Linked DNA regions of Homo sapiens: region 1 is linked to region 2. The links are contacts of gene promoters, found by promoter capture Hi-C in human tissues and cell types (Jung and others, 2019). All regions are on one chromosome and are shown on one strand. The core of a region is centred on a gene start or on the middle of the fragment in contact, and the rest is flanking DNA. Distances in the headings are between cores, read along the strand shown. Region 1 overlaps GTF2I (general transcription factor IIi). Region 2 holds the start of BAZ1B (bromodomain adjacent to zinc finger domain 1B).

The links. Contacts are between HindIII fragments. The study calls those that stand out against the background at their distance.
Region 1: a fragment that was not itself captured here is called in contact with the fragment with the promoter of BAZ1B in region 2 in 1 of the 25 tissues and cell types used here (dorsolateral prefrontal cortex).

Annotation. Positions count from the first base shown.
Region 1 is chr7:74,705,438-74,712,548 of GRCh38, forward strand. GTF2I (general transcription factor IIi) reads left to right here. Exons shown (of 35, transcript NM_032999.4): 8 at 953-996; 9 at 5,595-5,672. All of the region lies in intron 2 of GTF2I-AS1 (GTF2I antisense RNA 1), which reads right to left. Among named protein-coding and RNA genes, the nearest start is that of GTF2I-AS1, 20 kb to the right of the region's middle. The HindIII fragment of the contact is 4,442 bases long and covers 1,676-6,117 here.
Region 2 is chr7:73,516,826-73,523,965 of GRCh38, forward strand. BAZ1B (bromodomain adjacent to zinc finger domain 1B) reads right to left here and starts at 5,468. Exons shown (of 20, transcript NM_032408.4): 1 at 5,002-5,468. The coding sequence starts at 5,108. RefSeq lists silencers at 4,712-5,591, 5,942-6,081 and an enhancer at 5,652-5,811. The HindIII fragment of the contact is 11,404 bases long and covers 3,034-7,140 here.

The DNA.
Region 1 (7,111 bases), core at 2,647-5,146, 1.2 Mb after region 2:
GTGAATTGGCCTTAGAGTGGTATTTGGAAGTTAATATGCTATTCTGTAGTATTTTATTATACTGTTTTCCCCAAAAGATAGATAGAAATTAAAGTACTAAGTTCAGTTGGTAACTCTTTTTTTTTTTTTTTATTTTTGAGATGGAGTTTTGCTCTTTTTGCCCATGCTAGAGTGAAGTGGCGCGATCTCGGCTCACTGCAACCTCTGACCCCCTGCTGGGTTCAAGCGATTCTCCTGCCTCAGCCTCCCAAATAGCAGGGACTACAAGCATGTGCCACCATGCCCAGCTAATTTTTTTGTATTTTTAGTAGAGACGGGGTTTCACCGTGTTGGCCAGGCTGGTCTCGAACTCCTGACCTCGGGTGATCCACCTGCCTCGGCCTCCCAAAGTACTGGGATTACAGGCATGAGCCACCACGCCTGGCCCGATAAGTCTTAATATGCTACTCTGTAGTATTTTATTGTACTTTTTTCCCCAAAAGATAGATAGAAATTGAAGTACTAAGTTCAGTTGATAACTCTTTTTTTTTGTGGAGACAGAGTCTCCCTCTGTGGCTCAGGCTGGAGTTCAGTGGCATGATCTCAGCTCACTGCAACCTCCACCTCCCGGATTCAAGTGATTCAGGTGAGCGCCACCACGCCTGGCTAATTTTTGTATTTTTAGTAGAGATGAGGTTTCACCATATTGGCCAGGCTGGTCTTGAACTCCTGACCTCGTGATCTGCCCGCCTCGGCCTCCCAATGTGTTGGGATTACAGGCGTGAGCCACTGTGCCCGGCCCAATAACTCTTATTTATGCAATAAATAAATATGTCAGTTTTAAGCTGAGTCAGGTTTGCACCCACCTTGGTCAAGGGAGGGATCTTAACACTTTGAGACCCAGAGACTTTGAATGCTGTGGGAATGGCTGTCACCAGCACGTGGCTTGATCAGGGCTTTCTTCTCCTTGCAGTTGTGGCCCCATCAAAGTGAAAACTGAACCCACAGAAGATTCTGGTATGTACTAGCACTTTTAGAATCAATGGTGAAATTAAGGAAGACTTTTCCTTAGTGTAGAAGTTTATAGTTTGACTCAATTATTGTTTTGTTTTGATAAGAAAGAGGCAGTCACTACTAATGTATTCCAACTGTGACACTATTTGTTAATGTTATCACATTAAGACCCAGAAAGGTAATTTGCTCAGTAAGTGGTAGGCAGAGTTCTTTGCCAGTTACATATGTTTGTAGATAAAATGTATTTTTTTTTCCCGTTGTACAGACATATAATGTAAGAGGTCAGCTGTTCTATAGTGCTTTTTACAAAAATCAATAGAATGCCCCCTTCGTCTCCACCTTCCTTCTCTGCACTCCTGTTTTCCACTCTCCAAGGAGACCATTTTCAATTCTCAAATAAAATTGCTATTTAATTCCTTATTTATTTATTTATTTTTTGAGATGGAGTCTTGCTTTGTCACCCAGACTGAAGTGCAGTGGCACGACCTCGGCTCACTGCAACCTCTGCCTCTGGGTTCAAGCGATTCTCCCACCTCAGCCTCCCGAGTAGCTGGGATTACAGGCATACGCCATCACGCACGACTAATTTTTGTATTTTTAGTAGCGACGGGGTTTCGCCAGGTTGGCCTGGCTGGTCTTGAACTCCTGACCTCAAGTGATCCTCCTGCCTCAGCCTTCCAAAGTCCTAGGATTACAGGCATAAGCCACCGTGCCCGGCCCCCGTTTATAATTCTGTTCTGTCCTAGAACCGTGGCACCCAGATGTTCTCAGCATATGTATTTATTTCATCATTTCCCAGTGTTATCCTGTGTCCTAGTGCCACTGTCAAGCCTCCCGCTGCTCGGCCCTGTGCCCCTTATTCACACGGGACACTCCTTAGTGGGCTGTCACCGCCCTGCCTGCCCCCTCATCTCCCTCTGTCTGACCAGGCCCTCGGCAGCTTCCCCAGCCCCTTCCCCGGCCCTTTGTCAGCCTTCTCATTCTGCCATGCTTCCTGGGCAGCCACCTGCCCCGCTTCACCCCATCTAAGGGCATCTCGAATGAGTTGTTGGGGAGGAGGGTAGGGCCGCGTTAACGTGTGTGTGCGTGCATGTGAATGAGAGCTTTTATGTATGTAAGTGTATTTTGGGAGAGCTGCAAGAAAGTGTTGAATTATCCTTTTTTGGAAAAGGTATTTGAGTCTTTTACACTGTTTGCTGGTTTTACAGAAGGTTTTTCTTTTTTCTTTATTTTCACTCCATAGGAAATCTCAAATTTTTGTGTGGTTTTCAGTAGATTGTGCCAAAAAAAATCATCATTTTGCAAATGTTTCCCCTTAATTCATATATTCATCTCCTGAATATTTAGTTTGCTTCTAAAAAGAAACATGCTGAATTCAGAAACCCCATGTGTTTAATTGAATTCTTTCAACTGTCTTTATGTACACATCAGCATCATTATAGGTTTTTTTTTTTCTCTTTTACACTTTGCATCTTTGTATTCTTAATTTATCCTGCAAATAAGATGTACATTTATAGCCAGGGTGCAGCCAGGAGACAGAAACCATATCAGTTATTGGAACAGAGAAAATTTAATGTAAAGATTGTTGGCCGGGTGCAGTGGCTCACACCTGTAATCCCAGCACTTTGGGAGGCTGAGGCGAGTGGATCACCTGAGGTCAGGAGTTGGAGACCGGCCTGGCCAACATGGTGAAACCCAGTCTCTACTAAAAATACAAAAAAAATTAGCAGGGCATGGTGGTGGGCGCCTGTAATCCCAGCTACTCAAGAGGCTGAGGGAGGAGAATCGTTTGAACTCAGGAGGTAGAGGTTACATTGAGTCAAGATCGTGCCATTGCACTCCAGCCTGGGCAACAAGAGTGAAACTCCATCTCAAAACAAAACAAACAAAAACAGATTGTTAACTGGTTATAAAATTGTTAACTTTGTAACCTTAAGGAGAATACTAAGGTTTTTTTTAAGGAACAATTCTAGGCAGTGGCTGCCACCCCATCAGCTTTCCATCTGACTTCTGAGGTGGGGTAGTGTTTGGCTGGTGCTGGTGGCTGAGGGGCATGGTGAGGCTGCTTCTGGTAGTGTTGGAGACATTGCCAGCCGGGCACAGCTGTTGTGATGGGAGGGCCTGCTTTGGCCAGGCTGAACGAGGGTACCAAGGAGTGACCTTTTTGGGATGAGAATGCAGACAAGAAGCCAAAAGGAAGGCCCAGATCTCTTCTCCTCCTCTAGCCTTTCTCTCTGTAGTGTATCTTTGTGGCAGAGACTCACATGGAGCCAGCTGCTATGCAGAGCTCAAACTTCAGCAGAAACCCAGAGGATGGGTTTGCAACTGAGAGACATCAGTTTTGTGGGTGGCCCAGGCTGTTCTCTTTGGCTGCTCAGCATATATACACACCCTTCCCTGCACATTTGACCTTCTGTACAACAACGAGACAACTGTTCCATCTAAAGAGATGCAACTTTACTTCCTACAAAGAAATCCATTTTTACTCTCTCCTCAAAATGGGGGGACACAGTGTTCCAGCAGTCACACCCATCGCTGGGAGACTGACTGAAAATCCAGTCGCGAGCTATGTTACCTGCTCTTTAAATGCAGTGCAAACCTATTTGAGTAATCTCTAGTCTAATGGACAAATGGAAAGGAAACTTCCAGCCAAACTATTGTGAAATACTACCACACAGAAGAGAATAGTTAGTATATGCAAGCATATAATCTTCACACAAACACATTTGTAACAGACAAGGAAGACAATAGGCATAGTCGCCACAGTCTACGTTTCTGCAGCTTACCAGACTTTTTTTTGGATTTACCTTTTTATTTTTATTTATTTATATTTTTTGAGACAAGGTCTCACTCTGTCGTCCAGACTGGAGTGCAGTCGTGCGATCTCGGCTCACCACAACCTCCGTGTCTCAGATTCAAGCGATTCTCCCACCTCAGCCTCCCGAGCAGCTGGGATTACAGACGTGTGCCACCCAGCCAATTTTTGTATTATTCATTTATTTATTTTAGTAGAGACGGGGTTTAACCATGTTGACCAGGCTGGTCTTGAACTCCTGACCTCAGGTAATCATCCGCCTCAGCCTCCCAAAGTGCTGGGATTATAGGCATTAGCCTCTGCACCCAGCCAGTATGTGTAAGGTTCTTTAGCCAATTGGAGTGACCCAAATTTTTATTCCTGAAGGGTCTGAATCCCCAGTGGATCTGCCTTTTTTGTTAGCTGTAATGCTGTGATTTTCTTTCTTTCTTTATTTTTTTTTTTTGAGACGGAGTCTTGCTGTGTCGCCCAGGCTGGAGTGTAGTGGTACCATCTCCGCTCACTGCAACCTCCACCTCTTGGGTTCAGGTGATCTTTGTGCCTCAGCCTCTCGGGTAGCTGGGACTACAGGTGCGTGCCACCACTCCCGGCTAATTTTTGTATTTTTAGTAGAGACGAGGTTTCACCATGTTGGCCAGGCTGGTCTCGAACTCCTGACCTCAGGTGATTCGCCCGCCTGGACCTCCCAAAGTGCTGGGATTACAGGCACGAGCCACCGCACCTGGCTGTTAGCTGTAATTTTCTATTAACTTTTACTGATGGACATGAAAGTGCTAAGTTAGCCCAGAGAGTTGCAAAGGTCTCAGATGCAGTGTTCTCTGCCACCACTGTGTAGCAGCAAAACACTTTCCCCTTGGTGATTGAAGGCAATGGAGTAACTCCTTTTTTTGCTTGTTGCTTCAGGGATGCATACCCTTTGTATATCAATTTAACTCTCTTTGAGCTCTTTCTCTAGAGTTGAAAATATTCTTTACAAAGTTGCCCAAGTCAGAGCTCACGATTTCGTTTGTGTTAGGGTTGGTATGACTGTGGTTGAATATCTCAGTCTGAAATGTGTATGTGCACCCATGCATTGTTCATTTCTTTTTCTTTTTTTTTGAGAGGGAGTCTCGCCGTGTCACCCAGGCTGGAGTGCAGTGGCACAATTTTGGCCCTTCCCAAAGTCAACTTTTTAATAACATCGATTGCTTTTGCCTATTTTGACCTTCATATGAGTGGAATTACACAACATGTACTCTTTTGTATCTGGCCACAAAGGTCTGCTTCAAATCATCTGTCCTAATTGTGGGCAAAGCTTTATGCAGAAAGGTGTGCTTTGTACCCTTACACAAATCCCTGTAATAAAAGGGATGTATTAGGCAGAAAAAAACCAATGTATCTCATTATTGAAATTGTTGACCATTATGCTATCTCTCCTTTGGAATACTGAGTTATTAAAACTGATGTTTATAAGTGTGTTTCAATGGTTTATAAAAGTATTTTTAATATTAAGTGAAAAGGGAGTGTGGTAAAATTTTCTTTGATTCTAAAGATAAGAATTTGCTGGAGAAAAGAGCAGCACATAATTGCAGAATATTAATAAATGGTTAAAACTTTGCATTGGCTGGGATTATAGTGATTTTTTACCTTCTGCTACCTAGCAAACTTTTGTCTTTTCAAAGACGTAAAGTCTTTACTTAAAATAAATATGCATTGCTGTATTTATAGGGAGGGCAGAGAGGATTTCCCTACACAATCTAGCTGAAAGTTCTCACATGCAATCATATCATTGCATTTGCTTTTCTAGGCATTTCCCTGGAAATGGCAGCTGTGACAGTAAAGGAAGAATCAGAAGATCCTGATTATTATCAATATAACATTCAAGGTAATTTGAATTAATGCAATTTTTCTTTCTAAAAATTATTCGTGGTTAAAATTAAAATTTGCTCATCAATTGCTTTAATTTCTTAAATAATATTTTATTGATCAGTTCTTGATTGACATATATATTGTAATTCAGTCCCGGGGATAAAACATTTAAAAATGGGGCTAAAAGATCAACTCAGACAATCCAGAGGGGATATGTAAAATAGCCATTTGTGTTCTTAAAAGGATGAGCAAAAGTTGTGGCACAATTTAGAATTCAATCCCAGGTTCTAGTGTTGCAAAATAAAACAAACCTATTAGGCAAATGCAGATAATGTCAGCTTAATTTTTTCTCACTGCATAATTATAGTATATTAAACACTTAAAGTAAAAAATCTGGTTAGCTTTGCCATCTACATATCTAATACACCATCTTCATTGCATCCAAGATAATGAAATATCTATAACCCCAAAAGTTTCCTGTGTCCCCTTGTTATTCATTGCCCTGCCCAGTATTCAGGCAACACGGATCTGTTTTCTGTTTTAGGTTAGTTTGCATTTTCTATAAAGTCTTATGAATGAAATAATAAAATGTGGACTATTTTCATGGGCCGGGGAGCAGTGTGGCTTCTTTCATTTCAAATGATTGTTTTGAAATTCATCCACAGCGTTGCACGTATCAGTAGTAGATTCCATTTGATTGTTGATTTGTATTCTATTGTATGCCTGAGTCAAAATTTATTCATTTCTTTGTCTGTTGATAGCCATTTGGGTTCTTCCAGTTTGGGGCCATTACAAATAGAGGTACTATGAACATTGTGTAGAGGCTTTTGTGTGGACATAGGCCTTCATTTCTCTCTTTTTTTTTTTTTTTTTTGAGACAGAGTCTCACTCTGTTGCCCAGGCTGGAGTGCAGTGGCGCGATCTTGGCTCACTGCAACCTCCACCTCCCAGGTTGAGGTGATTCTTCTGCCTCAGCCTCCCGAATAGCTGGGATAGCAGGTGTGTGCCAACACACCTGGCTAATTTTTGTGTTTTTTAGTAGACACAGGGTTTCACCATGTTGGCCAGGCTGGTCTCGAGCTCCTGACCTCAGGTGATCCACCCGCCTTGGCCTCCCAAAGTACTGGGATTACAGGGGCTAACACGCTTTTTTAAAATGAAATATTTAAAACCTAAAAGCATAGTATCAGTCTGCCCAGGTTTAGTGAACCATAGTATTTGTCTCTTCTCTCCTCCCTCCAAGAAACAACGTGTAACTATTTCATTGAAGCCTTTCTTTGGGCTCCCCCAAATCCCCACTTTTCTCTCTATTCTTAAGTTAACCATGATCTTGAAAACTGAGAATTGTCCTTCCTGATGGTGATGTGCTTTACTACGTAAATATTCTCCCGGGAGTGTGTGTGTGTGTGTGTGTGTGTGTGTGTGTGTGTGTGTGTGTGTGTGTCATGTCATATT
Region 2 (7,140 bases), core at 4,218-6,717:
CCTAACAACGGCTATTTTAAGTTTGTGTAACTGTTCTGGTAACTGTTCTGGTAATTATATTAAGAGAAAGCAAGGCTGGGCATGGTGGCTCACGCCTGTAATCCCAGCACTTTGGGAGGCTGAGGCCGGTGGATCAACTTGAGGTCAGGAGTTCGAGACCAGCCTGGCCAACGTGGTAAAACCCCATCTCTACTAAAAATACAAAAAATTAGCCAGGCGTGGTGGTGGGTGCCTGTAATCCCAGTTGCTTGGGAGTCTGAGGCAGGAGAATTGCTTGAACCCAGGAGGCGGAGGTTGTAGTGAACCAAGATCGCACCACTGCACTCCAGTCTGGGCGACACAGCAATAACCCAGCTCAAAAACAAAAAAAAAAGAGAGAAAGTAAGGCCACACACAGTGGCTCATACCTGTAATTCCAGCACTTTGGGAGGCTGAAGCGGGAGGATCACTTGAGGCTAGAAATCCAAGACCAGCCGGGGCAACTTTGCAAGACCTCGTCTCGTCTCTACAAAACATACAAAAATTAGGCGTGGTGGTGTGCACCTATGGTTATAGCTACTCAGCAGGCTGAGTGGGAAGAATCACTTGAGCCTGGGAAGTTGGAGGCTGCAGTAAGCCATGATCACACATCACTGCACTCCAGCCTGGGCAACAGAGTGAGACCCTGTCTCAATAAATAAATGAATAAGAAAAAAAGGGAAAGCAAGAAAAAAAATGAAAATGAAAAGGCAAAAAGGCCCATCAGAAGGATATTGAGTCAGCTGCCTCTAAATCCTATTTCAGATTTTAGGTTACCAAAATAAGTCACTCACTCTCAAATAACCTCTCAGAGCAAATGCCAATTGAGGTTTTTATGTTCCAGCAACTGCTGCACATATAATTGCAGACAAAATGTCAAAGCAATTCTCCAAAGGTTGTGTAAGCTATAAAAGATAAGATATTTTCGAATCCTAGACTATCTCATTATGTATCTACTTTGCCATCAGCTACCTCCTTATCACAATATGCTGCTGCTTTGTTCTCTTCAGTCTTGCAGGGATTGTTTCTTTCAATTAAGTACTTGATATCCTGAAAAGATGTGGCCCAGATAAGTATAGAGTCAAACAAGCATAACTGTAACTAACCTAAGTGCTCTAAGTCAGAAGATGGCAAAGAGTGAGCCAACTCAAGATTTGCTTTTTACTCGATATTCTCTCTTACTCGATTTTTTCTCTTAAAGACTCCAGACTGTCTTTAAGTTAAAAACAAGTCTAATATGGCATAACGTATTACTTTAAAGAATGTATAAAAATCAGGCTGGGCGCAGTGGCTCACGTCTGTAATCCCAGAACTATGGGAGGCCGAGGCGGGCGGATCATAAGGTCAGGAGATCAAGACAATCCTGGCTAACACAATGAAACCCCATCTCTACTAAAAATACCAAAAAAAAAAAAAAAAATTAGCCAGGCGTGGTGGCGGGCGCCTGTAGTCCCAGCTACTCAGGAGGCTGAGGCAGGAAAATGGCGTGAACCCGGGAGGCGGAGCTTGCAGTGAGCCTAGATCGCGCCACTGCACTCCAGCCTGGGCGACAGAGCGAGACTCCGTCTCAAAAAATAAATAAATAAATAAATAAAAATAAAAATAAAAATAAAAATCAACGTAAGAGCTCAGTATTCCAAATGTCCAGTAAAACTCTATCTTACAACTACAACTTAACTCCATCTATAGCTACTCAACTCTTAACACATGCTCTAAGGCAGACGCAGTAGTGCGTGCCTGTAGTCCCAGCTACTCTGGAGGCTGAGGCAGGAGGATCTCTTGAGTCCGGTTCAAGGCTTCCCTGTGCTACCACCTCGTCTGTGAACAGCTGCTGCACTCCAGCCTGGGCAACACAGCAAGATTCCATCTCTTAAAACAAAACAAAAACATGCTCTAGTCACACTTGTGTAGAGCCAGATTAACAGTATGAATAAGCCCCTCATTATCATACCCTCAATAAATTCTCACATAATGATGCTACAAAGGTCGTGAACTAGTTATTTCTAAGCTTTAGAAACTATGACAGTTGAAGTAACACAACAAAAATACTCATCTACAACACGCTGCTTGTAGCTCCAATTCCTGCCTAAAACCTATCTTGACTTAAATACAGTCAGTGTCACATCAAGAACTGATTCTGATAAAGTTAGTGTTTTCCAAGATCTAGTGTCCTGCCTGTGGGAATACCTTAGGAAGTAATGTACCATACAAAGCTACAGTACAATCAACATAATCACCAATATTTAACACCTAGTCATTAAATGTGTGCATTACTCACAACTTCCACTAAGTTTAATGAAGATTCACAATATACTCCAAGAACATACCAACATACAGCTTTAAGTCAGTAAAATATCACACAAAGTTCTGTGATACATGCAATCAAAAGGTAGGTATTAAAAGAAAATTAAAATATCAAGTCCCATTAAAAACATAATTGTAAATATAAGTTGAGAACTGGGAATACTACTTCAAAGGCAGCTGTTACCTAACCACATATTTGTTCTCCTCTATGAAACCACTAATAGCCTAATAAAGAAATATGCCAATCTGCCAACCATACAGTACAATTGTTTAAAAACCATCCTCAAAGTGCTTCCACTTGCAGAAATTCCCGAAAGAGCAATTTCCCCCCAATATATAATATGTTTTAAGACTTCTTTTGTTAAAACAGTTTTAAATGCTGTTATGGGAAATTAAAAAATGAAGAATGTTTATTAAATACATACCACTTAAAATGTTTCCGGTTTCAGTTTTAAATTGTTACCATCAAAACTCTTCATATATATATTTCAATTTCATTCATTCAATAATATGAAAAAGCCTGCGTTGCCAGTCCTAAATTAACTTCCTACAGCCATTTTTTACATAGCTCAGTACCTGAAATATACTTAGAAATTGTCTCTTCTCTATGGCATGTTTCTTATACTCTGCTAGAACCAGACCTGAGAAAGTATCATCTGAAAGTGTGTGAGCATCCATCAACGGCTCAAAACATTAATGACATTGGAAAAGTATATGTCGGATTCTCACAAGTTGCTACTCCACTGCCGATTCGAATGTATTAAAAAGTAGGGTACTGGCCAGGCGCGGTGGCTCACGCCTGTTAATCCCAGTACTTTGGGAGGCCGAGATGGGCGGATCACCTGAGGTCAGGAGTTTGAGACCAGCCTGGCCAACATGGTAAAACCCCATCTCTACTAAAAACACAAAAAGTTAGCCGGGCGTGGTGGCACGCGCCTGTAATCCTAGCTACTCAGGAGGCTGAGGCAGGAGAATCACTTGAACCCTGGAGGCGGAGATGGCAGTGAGCCCAGATCGTGCCACTGCACTGCCACCTGGGTTAACAAGAGGGAAACTCCGTCTCAAAAAAAAAAAAAAAAAAAAGTGGGGTACTTCGGTATAATGCAGTATTTGGTAGAGCTAGTGGAACTTCTCCAGAACATTCCAAGTCTTCACAGGACAAGAAAAAAACCAGATCACCACCCCTCCACTTTAAAGTGCCTTACCTTATACCATAATGACAAAAAAGTGAGGTAATATTTAAATTAATTGAAAGTGAAGGAGTAACATTCCACCTTCTTCTGTTGATTGACTTACAGGGATGAGGTAGGAAGAGCGGTGGATTCTACTCCTCTTTCATCATTTGACCTTCAACAAGTCAACCTCCACTCTCTGGGCCAACTCAGCAAACCAAGCCCGAGGACCCGACCACCTCCAAGATCCACTTCAGCTCCAAGATGCTACAGCTCTATTTCTCCAAGAGCCTTCCTCCAGCATGGACTGATTTTCCAGGCCCCTTTGTGTGTATACTCCCCACAAAGGGACACTCACAAATTGCACTCCAACAAGAATGAGATTATCCTCTAAAGTACTGCGTTAAAGTGAGGATCAGGGAGAAATGAAATAACTCTGAGAGACACTTCCTCCTATACAGAAGCAAGCAAGAAACTGAGAAATGAAGTCCTTCCGAACAGAAGGGGCTGAGAAAACTCATAACACATTAGCCTTCACTCTTAAAGCTTTCAGTCACCAAAGAAATGCTTGATTCCGAAATCGTTTTTGTTTTTTTTACAGATAAGCCTCAAAAACGATTCTTCTGGCACCCATTAAAAAAAAGCAAATAAAAGCTGCACAACTTTTCACTAAAAGATAATGCTTATGCAAGAAATCTTAGTCATGACGAGAGGATGCTTCCTTTGTAAAACATCCAATTTCATGTTCCTAAAATACAACATAAAAACTTCACGTCTTGGTTTTTTTGTTTGTTTAATTTTAACAAATACCAATCTCCTTCTAAACCTTCAAAATTTCAAACCTGTGTCTGCCCAGGGAAGGCAGGCATCAGCTCCTCCACAGGCAGTTTCCTTCCCTCCCTTTCCTCTAAGCGGGGAATCTCATTCCTAGTTTTCTGCCCCAGGGTCCTGTCAGTTCATCCCCGGCCTAAAGTCCCCTCGGGAGACGAAAAAAACGCCAAGTATCCCCGCAGAGATCGGGGTAAGACGCAGTTGAGTCTTGCACACGCCGCATCACGAGGCCGCGCGAGTACAATTTCAAAACTTAAGCTGCAGGTTTCATTTAAATTTTTAAAAAATTTTTGTAAAAATTAAAGGAGAAAACCTAGCTCCCCCTCCCCACGCCTCCTCCTCCCTCTCGGGTCCTCAAGGCCTAAAGCCAACCCGGGGAAGGTAATGGGGATGGGGGATGCGCTCCTCGCCGGCGAGGCCCCGGGACAAAGTGCGGGGCCCCGGGGGCGGCCGAAGCGGGCCCTTCTCCTTCCAGGGCCGGTGCGCGCCCCCCGCCGGATCCCCTGGAAGGATCGGCGGGCGCAGGCTGAGACTCAGCCTCCAGGCCCGCGAGCGGCCGGGGCGCGCTGACAGCTGCCCCGGGCCGGGGATGCGCGGCTGACCTGGTCTCGCGAGCCCCAGGCCCTACCCCGGCCCAGCCCGGCCCAGCCCGGCCCGCGCGGCTGGAAAAGGATACTCCCGGGTGCGGAAGGCCTCCTGAGTGTGCGGGATGGTGAAGAGCGGCTCCTCTCCGGGCAACGGCTTCACCAGCGGGAAGGGCTTGCGGCCCAGGAGCGGCGCCATCGCGGCGGCGGCGGTGGGGACTGGCGGCTGCTGGGGCCGGCCCCGCGGCGCAGCACTAGGCCCCGCGGCCCGGAGCGAGCGCCAGGCGCCCGGGGGTGGGGTGGGGGAAGGGAGGGGTGAGAGGGCGGCGCGAACTCCGGCTCCCTCACCGCCGGCGCGGCCGCGCGACAGTCATGGAGCGGAACGCCACGGCGCAGAGCTCCCGCGCACACCGCCGCGCCTCCCAGCAGCCCCCCGCCGACCTCCGCTTCGGGTCCCGGCGGCCGGCAGTCACGACTCCTCCTCAGCAGCACCGGAGGAAATTATTGAAAAATGGCGGGAGATTCCCCTCCTCCCCCGGGCCCGGCCAACGCACACACTAACTTGCTCCCCCGTGGCGCCGGTGGCGAATGCTCCAATAGGCGGAGAGCTGGTCAGCGCTCACAGCCTATTGGCTCGGAGGAGCTGCCGCTCCGCGCCTGGGTCCCGCCCCCCTGCCCCTGTCGCGTAGTTGGGTTGCAGCGCACTAGAGGGCAGTCTGAAGAGGTGAAAGGTCACGTTATGTAAGCGCCCGTGATAGGCGTGCGGGCCTCCGACGGCAGAGTTAAAAGTGGGGGACAGCGGGGGATGGAGAGGACGAGAACTCAAAGAGGTCAAGCCGGAGAAGCCCCTCGCATATACAGATACTGCGCCATCTGTCACCGACGGCGACACCGACATCCGGGCACCACTGTCCGTGTGGTGCGCCGGAGGGGGAGGGTGAGCGCGCGGCCAGGGGCTTTGTCTTTCCTCTTGGGCGCCTCCCCCTTCTTAAAGGCGCCGTGCTCGGCCACGCCCGGGGATGCGCGGGTGGGGCTGGGCTGCAGGGAGGGGTTGGCGGGAAGTGGCCCCGGGAGCTTACCCTACCAAAGGTTCTGCGGAAGGACAACGTGGGGGCCAGCTTTGCTCACCCCAGAGTTAACTTCTGGGCGGGAGTGTGGTTGAGATCTGGGTAGAAGTATACTGCTTGTTTCTAGGGGCTGGCTGGAAAGTAGAATATAGAAGCTTCTTTGGAGAAATAGATTAAAAGACGTACTTAGTTTTTTGGTTTTTGGTTTTTGTTTTTTTTGAGACGGAGTCTCGCTCTGTCGCCCAGGCTGGAGGGCAATGGCGCGATATCGGCTCACCGCAACCTCCGCCTCCCGGGTTCAAGAGATTCTCCTGCCTCAGCCTCCCAAGTAGCTGGAATTACTGGCGTGCACCACCACGCCCGGCCAATTTTGTATTATTAGTAGAGACGGGGCTTCTCCATGTTGGTCAGGCTGGTCTCAAACTCCCGACTTCAGGTGATCCGACCGCCTAGGCCTCCCAAAATTATCATTATTTTTTTTTTTGAGACGGAGTTTCACTCTTGTTGCCCAGGCTGGAGTGCAGTGGTGCAGTCTCGGCTCACTGCAACCTCTCCCTCCCGGGTTCAAGCTATTCTCTTGCCTCGGCCTCCCGAGTAGCTGGGACTACAGGTGCGCGCCACCACACCCGGCTATTTTTTGTATTTTGTAGAGACGGGGTTTCACCATGTTGGTCAGGCTGGTCTCGGACTCCTGATCTCAGGTGATCCACCCGCCTCGGCCTCCCAAAGTGTTGGGATTACAGGCGTGAGCCACCACGCCCTGCCAGAGCTGTGACTCTGGCTTTTTTTTTTTTTCTCCCATGATACTCAGCACCTGGCTCGGAACATTGTAGGTGCTAGTGAATACTATTTGAATGAATTGGATCTACCTTTTATTTTTTATTTTTTTTGTAGAGACAGGGTCTTACTTTGTTGCCCAGACTGGTCTCGAACTCTTGGCCTCAAGCAATTGTCCCGCCTCTGCCTCCCAAAGTGCTGAGATTAGGCGTGACCCACTGTGCCCAGCCAGGATGTCTCTTTAATAGGTACGTCTGGGCCGGGCGCAGTGGCTCACCCCTGTAATCCCAGCACTTTGGGAGGCCGAGGCGGGCGGATCACGGGGTCAGGAGATGGAGACCATCCTGGCTAACACGGTGAAACCCCGTCTCTACTAAAAATACAAAA